Regions from separate parts of the Homo sapiens genome. Here region 1 is linked to region 2. Evidence: promoter capture Hi-C in 16 types of primary human blood cells and fetal thymus (Javierre and others, 2016). All regions are on one chromosome and are shown on one strand. Each heading gives the region's core, a stretch centred on a gene start or on the middle of the fragment in contact. The rest is flanking DNA. Distances are from core to core; before and after follow the strand shown.

The links. Contacts are between HindIII fragments. The CHiCAGO score rates a contact against its expected background, and 5 or more counts as called.
Region 1: a fragment that was not itself captured here is called in contact with the fragment with the promoter of PRAM1 in region 2 in 1 of 17 cell types (non-activated CD4 T cells); the score reaches 5.4 in non-activated CD4 T cells.

What each region holds. Positions count from the first base shown.
Region 1 is chr19:8,592,949-8,595,648 of GRCh38, reverse strand. All of the region lies in intron 12 of ADAMTS10 (ADAM metallopeptidase with thrombospondin type 1 motif 10), which reads left to right. Among named protein-coding and RNA genes, the nearest start is that of ADAMTS10, 16 kb to the left of the region's middle. The HindIII fragment of the contact is 664 bases long and covers 1,119-1,782 here.
Region 2 is chr19:8,501,386-8,504,085 of GRCh38, reverse strand. PRAM1 (PML-RARA regulated adaptor molecule 1) reads left to right here and starts at 1,446. Exons shown (of 10, transcript NM_032152.5): 1 at 1,446-1,521. The coding sequence starts at 1,495. The HindIII fragment of the contact is 16,783 bases long and covers 979-2,700 here.

The sequences.
Region 1 (2,700 bases), core at 201-2,700, 92 kb before region 2:
AGGGGGGTGAGGTGAGCCCCCATGGTGACCTGGGAGGACAGAGGTGCATGGAGTGTGCAAAATGTCCTAAGCAATCAGACAGTGCTTGGGAACAAAAATGGGATCACCTGCTTCTCCAGACCCCTGATTTGAGGGCTGGGCTGGGGGGCCAGCTTCTGTCTGGCACATCACACCCCCTGTGGGCTACAGCAGGATCAAAGTCTCAAGACCTCTCACGGGGCAGTTTTTAACTAAACATCCAGTCCTGACGGAAATAATTTCCCTGGGGATGAGCCATCTTTCCTACTTGGCAAAGAACTAGACAGAACCTTCCAGGGACTCCCTGTCTGGAGGAGCTCTGAGCCTCCTGACCTCTCCCCACCCTTTCCTGAGGTTTAGATTCCCAAAGCCCCATTCGTGCATAGAGAAGGGCATTGGGGGGCAGGAGGTTCCACTCCCAGCTCCCCCCAGGAAGCTGAAGACCTGCTGGCTTCCTGCTTCAGCCACCAAGGTTCAGCCAGGATCTGCTCCTCCTCTGCCCACCTGCCTCGATTCCCTAAATGCACCCCTAAGCTCCTCACAGTCTCAGCCCTAGGGGCCCAGGTTCAGCCCCAGTTCTTCACACTATCACAACTCAAACGATCAGAGTTTTTGTGATGCCATGTTAATGCAAAGCAGAGGGCAAGCAGCTGCCAAATTGCCCTCCCTTCATTCCACTGCAAGACAGAGACAAACCCTGGAACAATTTCTATTTCACTGACATTCCACCCTTGACACCCCCCAACATCCTAACTTAGCTGGTAACTGCAGCACCCTCTAAGGAATTCCTAAAGAATTCTGAAGCTACTCCTCAACATCTGCTGTGACCCAGGTATCCTAACAATGATCATGGTGTCTGACATTTACTGAGCTCTCACTATGGGCTAAGCATGTGCTGTGTGTCACCATCTAAACTCCTGACAATCCTGCTAGCCCCCACGTTACAGAGGAAGGGACTGAGCCATAGCATAGGGAGGATGACTTGTCCAAGGCCACAGTTTGAGACCATGACAGAGCTGGGATTTAAATCCAGGTCTCTCATGACTCTCTAAATTTTACAAAGGGGCAGGGGAGGGGAGGAGCTGTCAAAATATCAAGCTTGGGCTGGCACTGGCTATATGTTGAATTGAGCCTTCCTTTTAGTTTTTGAAGGAACATCTTTCAGGCCATCTTGGCAAAGGGGGATTTATTTACTAAATGTGAACTGGTTAATATATGTAAAGGGTTCAGCCTGGTGCCTGGTCCAGAGATAGTGGTGGTCATTGTTACCCCATAATGGCATTGGTGCAAGTCCTTTCTTATCTATCCTGTCACGTGCCTCATAGCCATTTATATAGGCAAGACAGGCATTAGGCTGCCCATCTTGTAGATGAGTAAACTGAGGCCCAGAGAGGGGAAATATATTGCAAGTTGGTAGCAGAATTGAGGTCTCTGCACAACTCAAATATGCCACAGTGCCTCCTTGTGGAGAGGAGGACAAAAGCAGAGCTGAAATCATTATCTTGAAGAGGTGTCAGAAGTGGGATTGCGACAGGACTGATGTGATATTTTTAGATATGGCCAAGAGGACACAGTCTGAGTTTTTAGCTGAGAAATGTCCTCTATAAGGCAGAAGGCAGAGATTCTAGAGGACCTTTGAGGGAGAATGTATTTGAGAACAACTCTTCCAGCTTCTTACATATGTACAGGTATCTCTCAGGGGCTGACCTAGGAAGGGTCCTTTCCTGTGGCCATTGATCGATCCAGTCCCACATCTGGAAAGCTTACAAGAATTGGGTTCAAAGCGGGGATTACACTTGATAATTACAGAAGGACCACCTACTTCTTAGAGGAAAGACGCTGGGAGGTTGCTTAGGATGTGGGCCAAGAGGGTCAGAGAGGACCACCTACTTTTTAGAGGAAAGACGCTGGGAGGTTGCTTAGGATGTGGGCCAAGAGGGTCAGAGATTTTGCTTCACCTGAACTCACTGGGGCTTCTCCAGGGATATTAACCTGGACTTTAAGAGTCAGAGTGAGTCCCTGGGACTAGTTCAGCCCATCCAGGATTCAGACGGGAAGAAGGTGGGGCTGATTTTTCACCTGGAGAAAGAGAGGCATGTCCCACACAGACCTAACTCGGCATTGTCCCCTCCCAAACTCCCACCCCTCCACATAGCTTAAAAGTGTTGGGGGCTTCTCCAGTTTAGATGGGGGAACAAAGAGAACCAACAGCTGGAAAAAACTAGAGATGAGGCCGTTGGCCTAGTCATCATCCAGGCCGATTTCTCAGAACCACCACTTTCTCTTCGGCTACTTTGCCCATCCCATAAAAGAACCCCAAATCCTTCCTGTTCATTCCTCAGCAGTTCCCACGTTTCCTTCCAGAAACTCAGAAGGCACCAGGAACTGAATTGCAAAGTTCGTTAGAGCACAGACTCTGAATTAAAGAGCTGGGTTAAACTCCAGGCTATTCCCTTAGTAGCTGTGTGACCTTACCTGTCTGAAGCTTGGTTTTCTCCCAGTAAGATGGGGTAGTACTGCCTAAAGAGGTATATGGCATGTATAAAGTGCTCCATAAATGGAGCTTATTGGGAGAGTATAAGTCACAGGCCATGCCCCGCAAGGGGATGCACGAAGACCCACCGCGAGCCAGGAAGGGAGCACCGGGCTCTCTGCTCTGGGACCGGCAGTGAGCCGGACATC
Region 2 (2,700 bases), core at 197-2,696:
GCCTCCCAAGCAGCTGGGACCACAGGCGTGCACCATCACACCTGGCTAATTTTATATTTTTTGTAGAGATGGAGTCTTGCTACATTGCCCAAGCTGGTCTTGAACTCCTGGGCTCAAGTGATCCTCCTGCCTCAGCCTCCCAAAGTGTTAGGATTACAGGCGTGAGCCACCGTGCGTGGCCCAGGTGCAAGGCCTTTGACACCACTCACCCACCGACCCCCAAATCTGCTGTACCAGCTAAGCTTTCTGCCCAGGGCGGCAGCCTGGGACATCCATGGCCTGTGATATCTGCCCCAGAACAAGTGAGTCCTGCTCAGAGCCGGGAATTGGATTTCATGGAAGTGTTGAAATGAGGAAGGCGGATGAGCCAACCAGGGCAGACAGCAGAGGCCTCACCCGGTCACATGGGCCCCCACGTCCTGGGCCTCTGGGCCTCCCCAGGAGCCTCCTAAACCCCAGAGCTGTCCGTACCCCTGATCTGCTGAGATCTCCCCATCCTGTGGCTCTCTAGCCCAGGAGGTCACCAGGGCCTGGCATGGAGTCCTCCCTGGAGTCCAGAGATGGGGACACCAAAGTAGTAGGAATGATGGGGACTATAGAGAGTAAGAAACTAGTTGGCCAGGCGTGGTTGCTCACGCCTGTAGTCCCAGCACTTTGGGAGGCCGAGGCGGGCAGATCATCTGAGGTTGGGAGTTTGAGACCAGCCTGACCAACATGGTGAAACCCCGTCTCTACTAAAAATACAAAAAATTAGCCGGCAGTGGTGGCACATGCATGTAATTCCAGCTACTCAGGAGACTGAGGCAGGACAATCGCTTGAACCTGGGAGGCGGAGGTTGCAGTGAGTCGAGATTGCGCCACTACACTCCAGCCTGGGCAACAAAGTGATACCCCGTCTCAAAAAAAAAAAAAAAAAAAAAAAAAAGAAAGAAACTAGTGACCATGTTAGGAACATGCGGGCAACCAGTGCCCCAAGCTTGGGACAGTAGCAGGCAGGACAGGAATTCAAGCGAAATAGAAGTGCCCAGCAGGGGCCGGGGCAGTGGCTCACACCTGTAATCCCAGCACTTTGGTAGGCCGAGGCGGACCGATCCCTTGAGGTCAGGAGTTTGAGACCAGCCTGCCCAACATGGTGAAACCCCTTCTCTACTAAAGATACGAAAAGTAGCCAGGAGCGGTGGTGCGCGCCTGTAATCCCAGCTACTCAGGAGGTTGATGCAAAAGAATTGCCTGAACCCGGGAGGCAGAGGTTGCAGTGAGCCGAGATGGCACCATGGCACTCCAGCCTGGGCGACAGAGCAAGACTCAGTCTCAAAAAAAAAGAAGTGGCTGGCAGGATCTGGAGACGGACTGGAGCCTCCCCACCTCCTTCCCTTCCTCCTCTGCCCTCCCCCGCCCCACCTCTAGCAGCCCCCACCCTGTGTGCTGACCGTGGAGCAGAAGCCACAGTCACTTCCTGAAGGCAGCGGCCCCAGCTCGGGTCCCACTCATCCCATGGCCCATCACCTGCCTGCAGCCATGGTGAGTGCTGGAAGAGGCCTGTGCCTCACTGGCTGGGAAGCAAGGGACACAGATGTTCCCAGAAGGATAGGATCCACCTGTGGAGGGGCGGGCGGGGGGGCGGGGGGTGGCTGCGAAAGACATCTGGGAAACGGGAAGGGTCGGCAAAAAGGACCCGAGGTAGGCGGCCACCAGGCACACCCCAGGACAGCGCGGGCTCCTGGGGGTTCACGCTCAGGTTGGGACTGCGAGGGGGACAGATGGGACTCCCCGGGGGGACAACTCCCGTCTCCCCAGGTCAACATGAGCAGCCATGTGGGAACGGGCTGCTGGGGTGAGAGCAGTGCTTTCCTGCGGGGTGACAAAGTGGGTCATGACCCTCCCCCGTCCAGTCACCCAAGTTGTGACCTGCTAACCCTGACTTATCTAGCCCTGTGGTCGCCCGGGAGCACTTCCTTCAAACCACTCGGGGCTTTGACAGGGGCACTTCAGGCCCCAGGTGGGAATTGCTGCCTTTCCAAGGAGCAATCCTGGTCTCTGGTCCTCTGGATGGGGAAAGTGAGGCACACGCAGGAAGCAAAGGCCACACGTTTCTGCCCTTTCCCTCCCCCAATCTCCTTGACCACAGGTGAAAGGGGCGTTTGTAGGACTAAGGAGGCCTGGCCTTCTTGTGAATCTGCCTACCTCTGTGAGGAGTGGTTGCAGGGCCAGCTAGGAGGGCAGCTGGGACAGCTGGGTATGCAGGAGACAGCGCCTGTGCCCACGGTGTCTGCACCAATCCTCTCAGGCACTGTCAACTGTGAGCATTCCTGACCATCAGCCCGCATGTCAGAGACGGTGTGAGAGGGACCGCATGGCCGTCTCCAGGCATCTCTGTGTTTTCCTGATGGTCAGGCTGAGTACATGGCTGTCTTTGTGCTGCCTGAATATTGTTTATTTCAGCAAATATTTACTGAGCACCTACCATGTTCCAGGCCCTGGGAAGACAGCAATGAATGAGCCAAGTCTCTGCCTTGCAGAGGCTGAGGAACTGAGGGAAGTTGTGGTGTAGAGAGACAAAAAAAAAAAAAAAAAAAAATCAAGACACATTAAAAACAATGTAAAATAGTATAATACGTAGGGGTGGGTACGATGGAGAAAATCATGCATGCTGAATGCAGGGCAGTAGTGGGATGGGGTGATCCATTTAAAATAGGGTGG